Linked DNA regions of Homo sapiens: all the other regions are linked to region 2. The links are contacts of gene promoters, found by promoter capture Hi-C in blood cells and fetal thymus (Javierre and others, 2016). All regions are on one chromosome and are shown on one strand. The core of a region is centred on a gene start or on the middle of the fragment in contact, and the rest is flanking DNA. Distances in the headings are between cores, read along the strand shown. Region 1 has its middle 3.3 kb from the start of ZNF322. Region 2 holds the start of H4C8 (H4 clustered histone 8). Region 3 holds the start of H4C1 (H4 clustered histone 1).

The links. The method cuts DNA at HindIII sites, captures the fragments that hold promoters and counts their contacts. A CHiCAGO score of 5 or more calls a contact.
Region 1: a contact is called between a fragment that was not itself captured here and the fragment with the promoter of H4C8 in region 2, in 1 of 17 cell types (neutrophils). The highest score is 5.6, in neutrophils.
Region 3: a fragment that was not itself captured here is called in contact with the fragment with the promoter of H4C8 in region 2 in 2 of 17 cell types (M0 macrophages and monocytes); the score reaches 6.8 in M0 macrophages.

Annotation. Positions count from the first base shown.
Region 1 is chr6:26,660,909-26,665,085 of GRCh38, forward strand. No RefSeq gene overlaps it. Among named protein-coding and RNA genes, the nearest start is that of ZNF322, 3.3 kb to the left of the region's middle. The HindIII fragment of the contact is 2,846 bases long and covers 1,107-3,952 here.
Region 2 is chr6:26,283,905-26,288,486 of GRCh38, forward strand. H4C8 (H4 clustered histone 8) reads right to left here and starts at 1,630. Exons shown (of 1, transcript NM_003543.4): 1 at 1,222-1,630. The coding sequence starts at 1,595. The coding sequence ends at 1,284. It overlaps TRX-CAT1-2 (tRNA-iMet (anticodon CAT) 1-2), which reads left to right and starts at 2,622; the gene lies at 2,622-2,693. It overlaps LOC124901287 (a long non-coding RNA gene), which reads left to right and starts at 1,776. Exons shown (of 2, transcript XR_007059520.1): 1 at 1,776-2,149. RefSeq lists enhancers at 471-1,206, 915-2,114, 1,207-1,942, 1,321-1,480, 1,631-2,020 and a silencer at 2,361-2,410. The HindIII fragment of the contact is 3,784 bases long and covers 928-4,582 here.
Region 3 is chr6:26,021,629-26,026,106 of GRCh38, forward strand. H4C1 (H4 clustered histone 1) reads left to right here and starts at 21. Exons shown (of 1, transcript NM_003538.4): 1 at 21-422. The coding sequence starts at 51. The coding sequence ends at 362. RefSeq lists enhancers at 1-784, 6-235, 386-615, 4,033-4,327. The HindIII fragment of the contact is 1,208 bases long and covers 2,541-3,748 here.

The sequences.
Region 1 (4,177 bases), core at 1,280-3,779, 380 kb after region 2:
TGTATTGTGTAAAATTATTGGAATAAAAATTAAGCAAGTTGGATTCTGATCTCTGCACTGCATATAACAAGGTCTGAATATGTGTAGAATTGAACTGTTCAACCTTTTCTTTCAGGATACATTGGCCCAAAGTACTCTTTATTAATTGTTTTATTCAGTTAAACATTTATTGAGCACCTCCAATTAACAGGACACCATAGGCCGGGCACGGTGGCTCACGCCTGTAATGCCAGCACTTTGGAAGGCTGAGGCGGGTGGATCACCTGAGGTCGCGAGTTTGAGACCAGCCTGACCAACATGGTGAAACCCTGTCTCTACTAAAAATACAAAATTAGCCAGGCGTGGTGGCGCATGCCTGTAATCCCAGCTACTTGGGAGGCTGAGACAGGAGAATCGCTTGAACCTGGGAGGTGAAGGTTGCAGTGAGCCAAGGGCACTCCAGCCCGGGCAACAAAAGTGAAACTCCATGTCAAAAAGAAACAAAAACCAAAAAAACAGGACACTATGCTGTGTGTTAGGAATTAAAGGCCAGTGAGACTCAATACCACTCCTTTAATGGCTCACAGTCTGGTATGGAGACGGCAGGGGTTTTAGGTGGTGTGGTAGAGGTAGAAGTTGTATAAGGTCATCTGGGGGCATAGAGGTGAAGCACTTTGTAAGAACTTTGAGAAAGAGTCAGAAAAGACTCTGTAGGAGATGAGACATAAGGTGAGACTCGAAGGAATAGAAGTAAGGAGTTGGCTGAAGATGAGCCTGAAATGGAAGATGGAAAATAAGTACAGAGACATTTGAATGTGATTTCAGTTAGTGGAATTTATCTTATATGAAATGGGAAGCAATTCTTGGAATTTCAAGCTGTGGAAATAGGGCAATTATCCCCACATTTAAAATCTTTAGAAAGATTATTTTTAGTTTTAAGTATGAGGATAAAGAGTAAGAAGGAGCAGCCAGGAAATTATGAGGAAAACAAAAGTGGACTACGACAACCAAGGGAGGAGAGTTTCAGTTAAGAGGTTTTTGACCAGACACTGTGGCACATGCCTGTAGCCCCAGCTGCTTGGTAGGCATAGGTGGGGGGATCACTTGAGCCCAGGAGTTCCAGACCAAGCTTGGGCAACATACTTCTTGTGGTTCTGAAGAGGATCTGGCTTTGAGGATAGAGATGAAGGGTATGGAAAGACTATTGTGACTAGAGTTGAGCAAGTGGGAAATTGTGAACTGCAGCCCCTGGAAAGGTGCATTTCAGTATCTTGTTTCCTAGAAGCCAGTAGGTCTGAAACTTCTTTCTGAGATTATCCACTGGAAAGTAGATTGGTCCTATGGAGAGTGTATGTATCTAGGGTTGCCAAATTTAGAAAGAAAAAAGTACAGGAAACCCAGTTACATTTGAATTTTAGATAAACAATAGATTTTAAAAAAGTTTTTAGGGAATATATTTTTCCCATGGGACATACACTAAAAAAATGGTTCATTGTTTATCCGATATTTAAATGTAACTGGGCATCCTGTATTGCATCTGACAATCATATAAGTAGCCTTTGTATGGAAACATATTCTGTGGAAGCAGTTCGTTTATAAGGGGCAGCATTTGTGATAAGATGAGGCAGGGAATTGCAGTTTCCTAGGATTTCTCCTTCTGAGAGAATAAAGAGACATCACCTAAGAGGGTTAGATCATGTGAGTGACTGAACTAATGTGATAAGATCTGATTATGGGAGAGAAAGATTGAGTTATATCTTTAGTTCGGCCAAATATTTGGTAAGAATAAGGACATGGCGATTTGGGAAATAAGAAATATAAGTTTGGACTAATGTCAAGTAGAAGGATAAGAGATTGGAGATCAGGGAAAAGGAGCAGGATCAGGGGACAACATAGGTTTAGTGTATGAATCATATTGAGGTGGAAAGGTAAATTTGAGTAGAAAGTGACGTCAAATAGGTTACTTATATGATCAATTAATGTTGGTTGGATGAACATGATTAGGCAAGCAAGTCAGAGGCATGCAGGGTATGAGTTGGGGTTGGATAAAGTATGGATAGTTGATGAGTTGTAGAGGAAAGTGATCAATGGATTTGAGACTGAGGAGAGAGTTTTTTTTGGAAGGTGTAGATACATTGGAATTCCATTTGAAAACCCTTTAAATTCTTCTTAGACACCATGCAGTCTTTTTATTTTTCTAAATCATTTTCCAAAGTGATTTACACACTAAAAAGGAATACCTTAGACCATGCAATAAAGGACAGACAGATGATCTAAAGAACAGGACATAATCAAGATTTCAGTGGAAATTCCCAAGGTACTTAAGGAAACAACTGGGGTCAGAGGAAGGCTAAAGAATACTATGGCAGGTTTTGGCTATGTTAGAATTTTTCCTGCCGAAATCTAAGCTGAAAGTTTCCACGAAGGAACTCTGAAAAAGAGAAAGTCCTCTTCTGTGTCTCTACGGCAGGCATATTTGCGATTTTTGGGATCCTGATGCATGCACTGTTAATGGAGATTTACAGGAGTCAGACCCAAAATCAACGTTAGTGGCCTCAATTTTTCTTCATCTGCTGCAGCTTGTTACTGAGAGTTCTGGTGATTGTTCCGTACCTGTTACTCCAACTAGATTTTAACTTAGTACAGAAAAGGTCTTTCATCCATGTCATCTCTTCTTTTTTTCTTTGTTTTTTTTTCTTTTTGAGACGGAGTCTCGCTCTGTCGCTCAGGCTGGAGTGCAGTAGCATGATCTCGGCTCACTGCAACCTCCACCTCCCTCATTCAAGCAGTTCTCCTGCCTCAGCCTCCTAAGCAGCTGGGATTACAGGCATGCGCTACCAAGCCCAGCTAATTTTTATATTTTAGTTGAGTTGGGGTTTCACCATGTTGGCCAGGCTGGTCTGGAACTCTTGACCTCAAGAGATCCACCTGCCTTGACCTCCCAAAGTGCTGGGATTACAGGCGTGAGCCACTGTGCCTGGCTTTTTTTTTGAGATGGACTCTTGCTGTGTCGCCCAGGCTGGAGTGCAGTGGCACAACCTCAGCTCACTGCAACCTCCACCTCCCGAGTTTGAGCGGTTCTCCTGCCTCAGCCTCCCAAGTAGCTGGGACCACAGGCATGCGCCATCACACCTGGCTAATTTTTGTATTTTTAGTAGCGACAGGGTTTCACCACGTTGACCAGGCTGGTCTCGAACACCCGACCTCAGGTGATCTGCCCGCCTCGGCCTCTCAAAGTGCTGGGATTACAGGCGTGAGCCACTGCATCCAGCCCATCTCTTCTTAATTTACCTTTTCTCTCATACATTGAATCTATCTGGCTATTCACCATTATTCCTTTTCCTGAATGATGCGTGGCTGCCTTTTCTGTGTTTTCCGTCCAGCTCTCCAGCTTATCTGTTTTACAGTGCTCTACTTTGTCTTTCCATCTTGACTGTTACAAGTTCATAAGACAATACCTCCCTCCCTGAGCTGAGGTAAGAATGAAATGTAGTAATTAATGCAAAGGTATCATCATAGTGACTCGGCATGTAATAGATACCCATTAAAATGTTAGTTCTAGGGCTGGCATGGTGGTTCACACCTGTAATCCCAGCACTTTGGGAAGCCAAGGTGGTGGATTGCTTGAGCTCAGGAGTTCGAGATCAACTCAAGAGCAGCCTAGGTAATGTGGTGAAACCCCATCTTCACCTAAAATACAAAAATTAGTCGAATGTAGTGGTGCACACTTGTGGTCCCACCAACTCAGGAGGTTGAGATGGGAGGATCCCTGGAGTCCTCTGGGAAGTTGAGGCTGCAGTGAGCTGAGATTGTGCCACTACACTTCAGCCTGGGTGACAGAGTGAGACCCTGTCTCAAAAAAAGAAAAAAATTCTTTAAAGCAGGGGTCCCCAACCCCTGGGCCACATACAAGTTAGTTGCTTCTTCAGAACTGGGCTGTACAGTAGGAGGTGAGTGATGGGCAAGTGAGTGAAGCTTCCATCTGTATTTACAGCTGCTCCCCATCACCCGCCTTACTGCTTGAGGTCCACCTCCTGTCAGATCAGCAGTGGCATTAGATTCTCATAGGACCGCGAACCTTATTGTGAATTGCAGATGAGAGACATCTAGATTGCATGCTCCTCATGGGAAGCTAATGTCTGATGATCTGTCACTGTCTCCCATTACTCCCAGATGAGTATTTGAATTACATTTGTAA
Region 2 (4,582 bases), core at 380-2,879:
TGGTGGCGCGAGCCTGTAGTCACTTGGGAGGCTAAGGCAGTAGAATCGCTTGAACTCGGGAGGCAGAAGTTCCAGTGAGCCGAGATCACGCCACTTCACTCCAGCATGGCGAAGGTGAGACTCCGCCTCAAAAAAGGAAAAAAAAAGCCAATCCAAATCTCCTACAAGTTTGGTCTCTAGCAAATCATTGTCCTGATGCCTGAATGTGTACTTTTTCAAAAGGCGATCATTGCTGGTTAAGAATTTAAGTTTTCGTGGCCGGGCGCAGTGCCTCATGCCTGTAATCCCAACACTTTTGGGAGGTCGAGGCGGGTGGATCACGAGATCAGGAGTTCGAGACCAGCCTGGCCAACATGGTGAAACCCCATCTCTACTAAAAACACAAAAATTAGGCGGGCGGCTGTAATACCAGCTATTCAGGAGGCTGAGGCAGGAGAATCGCTTGAAACTGTAAGGCGGAGGTTGCGGTGAGCCGAAATCGCGCCACTGCACTCCAGCCTGGATGAAAGAGCAAAACTCCGTCTCAACAACAACAAAATAAGTTATGGTGATGTTTCTATATTGCTCACTAAGCGGTACCCTACCTTTTAATATTTTCGTAATATTCAAAAACACATTTTAAGTCTATTGGAAACAATACTTGCAAGCTCTCAAGTGAACATTTATATTGTTACCCCACACTGCCTTTTGTAGACGAGTTTTGTCACCAAGTCAAAAGCAGCAGCGCGCACGCCGCCTGGACTTGGGTCTGCGATCCTACTCACGCAGATGTGTTGCGCTCACGGATTCGCCTTGGTTTAAGGCCCGCCGTCTGGGTGCGAGCTTTCTTTGTTTTTAGCCCTTCCCGCCATTTTGGAAAGGGTAACTTGCAGTCTCTCCGCGAAGTTTCCAACTTCTGTAGTCTTTGAGAACCTTACGAACGCTTCAAGCTTAAACTGAAGGAGGAAGGCCCACGGGAATTATAAACTGTCACAATCCAGCTTACTCACTGATATCTAGTGTTAAAATGCCACAAGAAAGCTAAACATATTCAACATACCAACTTCCCTCAAGCAGAAAACAGTGGCTTTAAGTACTTTATGCCCAAATCCTAAACATGCGAGATTAAGCACGAGTAATTAAACGTTACCTGCAAATCTACACATGTGCACAGTAACTACTTCTCAGCAAAAATCTGGAACAAAGCAGGATAACAAGATGTCTGCTCTTTTATGAAAAAAGTGGGCGGCCCTGAAAAGGGCCTTTGGTTGAAAATGAAAATAAGAGTGCAGCAAGCAGGAGCCTTAGCCACCGAAGCCGTAAAGAGTGCGTCCCTGTCGCTTCAGCGCGTAGACCACATCCATTGCTGTCACGGTCTTGCGTTTGGCGTGCTCTGTGTAAGTGACAGCGTCACGAATCACGTTCTCCAGGAACACCTTCAGAACACCACGAGTCTCCTCATAGATAAGGCCAGAAATTCGCTTGACACCGCCGCGACGAGCAAGGCGCCGGATAGCTGGCTTAGTGATGCCCTGGATGTTATCGCGCAAAACCTTGCGATGACGCTTAGCTCCTCCCTTACCCAAACCTTTTCCACCTTTACCACGGCCAGACATGACTAAGCAACTTCTAAAACCAACTTAAGAAACCTAAACGCCAAGGCAAAGCAACGCCCTTATATGCCGGGAATTCGGACCTAATTGAAGACTGAAAGCGCGCATACCGGAACTTTGGTCCTGCTTCTTGGCCCCACCCCGCATAGCCCAGCCCTGGATGACGTCACCAACGACTCCAGCCTTTGGCATCTGAGCGCCGGCTCCGCGGAGGCGTCTCTTGCAATTGCTGGGAAATAGGAATGAGAGTTTTAAGGCTGTTTTAACAACCAAATCAGATTAAATAAATTAACATGTTTAAATTGTTATCAATTGTTCCTTCAGTTGCTTTAGGACGATTGGAGAGGAGCCTCGGTCCACAAGACCGGAAGCCTGAGGAGTGCAGCTTTGTCCCCAAGGTCACAGTGACTGGCTTTCTGCTGCCGGCTGTAAAGCACATGCGGACCGAAACCCCCCTTCGGAAGTGTTTGAAAACTGCAAGATTTCACCCTCTCCATCACCAAGCCAAGGGAAACATAACCAAAAGGGTTTTCTTCCCGATGGCGAAGGCATGATAGGTTAGTGATTCGTGGTAGAATTATTGCCCTCCGCGCGGAGGCCTGATTCTATTCCCAGTTTGTTCTCTTCTTTCCCTGCTTATTAAAATTTGTAATTGCCATTTAAATATCTAACTGCCCCTCACAACTGCACCCAGTGTGTAGGTTTCGGGGTGGGGGTTTTTTTTTTTCCTTTTTTTAATTTTATTGAGACAGGGTCTCGCTATGTTGCCTGCCTGGGTCTTCCAAAGTGCAGTGACTACAGGCGTGAGCTACCGCGCCTAGCCCACCAGTGTATTGATATTTATTTTTCTATCCCTAGTTTTGTTTTCTGTTTGATTCTGGTGATTCCTTTTTCCAAAGTGAGTTGGCAACCTGTGGTAGCCAAAGAAGTAGGCAACTGCTCGTAGGTTTTTTCTTAAATTACGAGGTAGTCTGAACGCATCTCCTGTAAGTAGTTAAGAGTACTGTGAGACCGTGTGCCTGGCAGAACAGCAGAGTGGCGCAGCGGAAGCGTGCTGGGCCCATAACCCAGAGGTCGATGGATCGAAACCATCCTCTGCTAGGTCCTTTTTTTTTCTCCCCCCCCGTCTATTTTCCTGAGGATCCCTTTTTTTTAAGTTACAGTTTTTTAGGTTAAACAATGACGAAAGAAAACAAAATGAACCCGAGTATTTCTTTAATTCCAGAATTACAAGCATTTCCGGGAAATAATGTGAAACTACAATCTCTGCATGTACAATTTTGATTTTCATGGACACCCAAGTGTCATTAATCAATATGTCATCTGTAAACAAAGCAAATTTCTCTTGTTTAGAGGCTATACCACTGTTGCAGCCAGTTATGACAGTTGTAAGTTAACCTGCCAAGCAAGGAGAATGCTTACATAAACTGAGTGCCAAGGGTGGGGTGGGGTGGGAGCCCAGGAATGGAGTTTTATATCTTTTGATACATAATTCAGAAAGCACTATTTGCCAAGTAGTTAAGGCAATCGACTAGGAATTCCTAAATCCCCACACAGATTCTTTTCACCTACAAGGATCTTAATCTCGGAAAATGAGTTGCATTTTGAGGTGGGTGTGGAGTCTTCATAGCACTGATTGAACTCTGACCTGAGAAAAACATTTTTGCGGACCCTACTGGTAAATGTGTCTCTACTCTCTACCATCCTTTAATATCTCAAATAGAACTATTCGCTGTGCTTATTTTTTAAACATATGTGTGGACTGCTTTATGCTTCTCTCTCTCAGAAAGGATTCCTATTCAGATATTTATGTGTCACATACTGTATTAGGAACTAAGAAAAAAAAAAAACCTTAAGTAGTCTACAGTCTAGATATGCTTTTGTTGTTTTTGTTTTTTGTTTTTTGTTTGTTTATTTGTTTTTGAGATGAAGTCTCACTCTTGTTGCCCAGGCTGGAGTGCAGTGGCACGATCTTGGCTCATTGCAACCTCCACCTCCTGGGCTCAAGAGATTCTCCTGCCTCAGCCTCCCAAGTAGCTGGGATTACAGGTGCCTGCCATCACACTCAGCTAATTTTTGTATTTTTAATAAAGGCAGGGTTTTACCATGTTGGCCAAGCTAGTCTTGAACTCCTAACCTCAGGCAATCCGCCAGCCTTGGCCTCCCAAACTGCTGGGATTACAGGCTTAAGCCAACGCACCTGGCCCATATGCTTTTAAACAAGTAAATATGTAGAGTGCAATACAGTAATTCTGTGAAAGGATTGTACACTAAGTGCACTGGGAATAAGGAAAATAGTGCTTGTAATCCCATGACCACCCACTAATTCAGTAATTCACCAGAAGTAATCACATGACTCAGCATACTCTCAGTTAAGATTTATTATATCTATTGACCATTTTTTGTTTGGGTTAAAGAACATGTTTTAAAAATAAAAACAAAAAAGATTCATTACAGCACAGGATACAATGCAAGAAAAGCAGAAAAAATATGTATATACACAGGTAAATGTGGCTGTTACTATAGGACTGAATGAAGGAGGATGAACACAGAAATGAAGACAAAGACAAAAGGATTTGTTTAAAAGAAGGGGTCAAGGGGCTCCTAGCTTCTAGAGAACAAGGGCCCTGAGCTTCTACAGCCCTTCGTATTTATTAGGTAGAGTGAACAAGGAGGAAGGGGTAACTGTCGGTCAGCTACTGGATTTATCACAGGCTGACGATTGCTTTCTTTGTTCAACAGACTCTAGATATTCCTATAGATAACCTTAAGGAACACGGTGCCTGGGACGTGATTGCTCTCAGCATTCCTTCTAGTGGCAGATGCACTTGTCAGTTTGCCAGCATGCTGCTTTCATGAGAACAGTTTGCTGTTTGCTCATATACCCTCCAGTGGTATATTGAGTTGGTCACGTCCCTCATTCCTTTGGCCTCCAACATCTCCCCCTTTTTGTTTTTGCATTAATTGAATAAAGGCAATTCCAGACTGCA
Region 3 (4,478 bases), core at 1,895-4,394, 260 kb before region 2:
GATCGGTTTCCTATTCTCTCACTTGCTCTTGGTTCACTTCTTGGGAAGTCATGTCTGGACGTGGTAAGGGCGGGAAGGGTTTGGGTAAGGGGGGTGCCAAGCGCCACCGCAAGGTGTTGCGTGACAACATCCAGGGCATCACCAAGCCGGCCATCCGGCGTCTGGCCCGGCGTGGCGGTGTGAAGCGGATCTCTGGTCTGATCTACGAGGAGACTCGCGGGGTGCTCAAGGTGTTTTTGGAGAACGTGATCCGTGACGCTGTCACCTATACGGAGCACGCCAAGCGCAAGACAGTCACTGCCATGGACGTGGTCTACGCGCTTAAGCGCCAGGGACGCACCCTTTATGGCTTTGGCGGTTAAGGTTGCTGATTTCTCCACAGCTTGCATTTCTGAACCAAAGGCCCTTTTCAGGGCCGCCCAACTAAACAAAAGAAGAGCTGTATCCATTAAGTCAAGAAGCTCAATGTGTAATTAAGATGAATGATACTGAGCTGACATCCTAAAAAGGAAAGATTAGGGGAACTCCAAGTTTGCCCTCCACTCACTACATATGGGTAGGGGAGCAACGATATTCCAACTCTGAAGAAAGAGTGGAAAAAAAGTAGTGTTAAAAATTTGTATTAGTTTCCAAGGGACAAAGAAGCGCTGCCCAATCAATGAGGGCCATTCGTAGCTGTCAACCAATCAGAACTGATGAGCTAATATTTCCTGAGGCAAGCCAGGGAGCCGGAGGGGAAGCTAAGAAGCTTATTGAGAAAAAACAAAAACCCTGTTTTAGGAAAAAAAAAAACCATCTTTTAGCGATTATGAAATAAAATCACAGAGACATTTAAGTATCCCTCAATCATGTACTGAGAGCAATACTAAATTTATCGCCACCAATACAGTTTTACTCTATTAAAAAGACCCTGAAAATTGAAACCCTATTCAGACTCCTGGAATACCCAGGACACTAAATTCAGGGGAGATTAAAATCTGTTTTAGAGAGAAAAGGCACCTTTTTCAGTGTTACCGCGGCCTTCAGCAGTTAACCTTTTTTTTTCCCCCTTTACGCAGAAATGGAAATTTGGGTGATAGAAATATTCCGAAATTAAATTGTGATGATGGTTGTACAACTAAGAAAACACGGTAAAATTCATTGAACTGTACCTAAAGTGGGCAAATTTTGTGGTACATTAAATATCAATAAAGCTGATTATATACATACACATATATTTTTATATATGCAGAGAGAGAAATGATGCAAGCAGGGTGGTAGGACATGAGGTTGGTAGCATAGGCAATGTTGGTCTGTGAAGGGCCACCTGTGCTAAACCTGGAAGCCTGGGGTTTGTCCAGTCAAGCCATGGTAGCCATAGTTTTAAAGGATGTTCCTGATGCAGTTATGTGTTCCAGTTAAGTACATCTAGCTTCAGAACTCAGCTGGAAAAGGGATGTGAACTTCAGGTTAGCTGATAGGGAAATATCTTACTCTCATCTGAGTAAATATTCACAAATGCCTCTCATTGTGCTCTTTTTGGTACCATTGTTATAGGACTGATTTCAGCCTCACGATGTTAGCTTCAGTGATGGATGTCTCTTTATTTTGAGGTCCTGTTTTCCACCTGACAGTTTTCATCCAGGATTTCTTGAGGAATTACACAAGTACCCAGCTTGGCTTAATTTAAAACTGACAATGGAGAGAATTCATAGCTGCATTCTGGATAGTTTCAGGAATCAGAGGAGCAAAAATGAGCCTGGTATGGAGGGTGGGTCATTTTATGTCTTTCTTAGTTGGTATTTTAAAGATATTTATTGATCTCATATGCCAGATATTGTTGAAATCATTGGGGTACATAAGTTAGAAAATTTTAATTCCCTTTCCTGAATTCCAGAGTCAATGTAGAGGGGTGTGTGGATATCGATTACCCATATGGGAGGTATAGTCGTTGTAACAATAAGCCACGACTAGCTCCTGTTACGTTTTGCCTGGCCTTTCATAGCATTGCTATGTTCATAGCATTGCTGATATGTCATACTCATCTTAGGCATACCCACCACCACCTTGGGCCTTCTTCAGTCCTAACACTCATGCAGTCCTTGTTCAGAACAAAGATAATGTTGCTTAATTTGCAACCCCTAGACTATCCCCCAGATTTTCTAAAGAGAAACTGCACGCTGATTGCTTCAGGCAGTGGCAGGTCAAGGAATGAGATGGGGAATTGATTGTGTTAGCATTCTGGTGGGCTTAGTGGAGAGCCTGGAGACTTACATAGAAAATTCACACATCCTTTCATTCAACAAACCTCCATAAACTACCTGTTAAACGTCAGCCCTGTTCAAGGTGCTAGGGATACTTCTGGGACAAAACAAAGTCCCTACCTTCAAAAAATATATTCCAGTTGGGGGAGAGAGAACAAACACAAAATAAAATATATCTAGTTATATGTATTTTTTGTTAAATATATTATTACATATATAATTCTAGGTGGGGAAATGTTATATATATATGCTATTGAGGATAGTCAACTATATATATATATGCTAAATGAGCAGAAAAGCTTATTTTACAAGGGATGATTATGGGAGGTCTCTTTCGTAAGGTTGGTATTTGAGGAGAGGCTTGAATGAAATGAGATCTAGAGCCATTCAGATATCCAGGACAAGACCCTTCTAGGGAGAAAGAATAGATATAAAGGTGCTGATGCTGGAAATGCTTGGTCCATTCCAGAAACAGCAAGGTCAGTGAAGAGAAAGAACTGCGAAGAGAATGAGGTCAGAGGGTAGCCAGAGTACAGATCTAGTAGGTTGAGCAGCTCATCCTAGTTTGCTTGGAACTTTCTAAGTTTCAGCACTGTAAGTCTTACACCCTGAGAAACCCCTGAGAGTCAGGCAAACTGTAATGGTTGGTCATCTTACTTGTAGGCTATGATAAGGATGCTGGTTTTTATTATGAAGGTGATGGAAAGCCAGTGGAATCTTTTCAGCAGACAGTGGACATAATACCTTCAAAAAGGATCACTGTTGATGCTGGATAGAGAAAAAACTGTATGACAGGGGGATTAAAAGTGAAAACAAAGACCAGTTTGGGGTCACTGTGGTCATTCAGACAAACCGCCATGGCAGCTTGCTCCTAGAGAAGCAGCAAAGAAAACAATGAAAGGTATTCTGATTGATTTTCAACAGAGCTGACTGCATTGGGTGAAAGTTGTAAGAAGCTCAGGACAAACAATATTGCACAATTCCTGGCCCAAGCTGCTTGAAGAATGGAGTTCTATTGATTGACATGACAAATATCAGAGGAAGAACAGACTTGGTGTTTACGTATAAACATATTTTGGACAAGTTCGAGATGCCCATTATTCAATTAGATACATCAAATATGCAGTTGTATATGAGTCTAGAGATTTAAGGTCAGGGAGATGGTTTATAATTGCAAACACTTATTTAGAGACACAGTTTCACTCTTGTCTCCCAGGCCTAAGTGTAATAGCGCGATCTCAACTCACTGCAACTTCTGCCTCCCGAGTTCAAGCTATTCTCCTGTCTCACCCTCCCGAGTAGCTTGGATTACAGTCGCCCGCAACCATGCCCAGCTAATTTTTTTTTTTTTTTTAGTAGAGACGGGGTTTCACAATATTGGCCAGGCTGGTCTCGAACCCCTGACCCCAGGTGATCCACCAGGCTCAGCTTTCCAAAGTGCCGGGATTACAGGCGTGAGCCACCTTGCCGGGCCTATATTTCTTAAGCTCTATGTTTCGTTCTGAAGCTTGAAGTGGGTGGAAGCAAACTGATAGAATTTGGAGAGGTGGTTAGGCATCCCGGGAATGAGAAACAGCCCGAAGCTGCCACTATCACAGGCTTTGGCATTGCTAGAAGTTAACGTGGCACTTACAGCTAGGCCGTGGTGTTCTGTTGAACAAACTATTTGACAGAGCACAGAGCATGTAAGTGGTGAGGCCAGTTGAGTTAGCCAAGAAAAGAGGAGTCCAAGAACTGAGCCAGAGTACACCAGAGTATGTAGTGGAGTACAGCTTTCTCATTCTTTAGTAGGGCTGTGTAGAGAAATACTCTATTTTATGGATGTATAGATCACTCTAGTCCTTTCTGATGAAAACTTTACAGTTGCCACTCATTTACTATTACAAACAATGCTGCACTACATTATGTTTCAGTTTTTAGCCATCTCATCTGGTCTCAGCATTTATTTATCTGCTGATGACTCACACATTTTTATCTCCAGCTCAGACCTCTCACCCGAACTCACTTATTCAACTGCCTATTCACTATATCCTCCTGTCAGGAGAAGCTTGTTAGCAAAGTAACCAGAAAACAAAGTTGATTTTTTTTGCTGAAGTAGCCATCAATATATTTGTTACTAAATCAAAGATGCTGAATATTTGGCTGACTTCTAAAAATCTGGTCACCTAACTTTGACACTTCCTAGGTCGTACAGTTTGAAACTTTCACAATTAAATCAGTTTTGGAATTTACAAT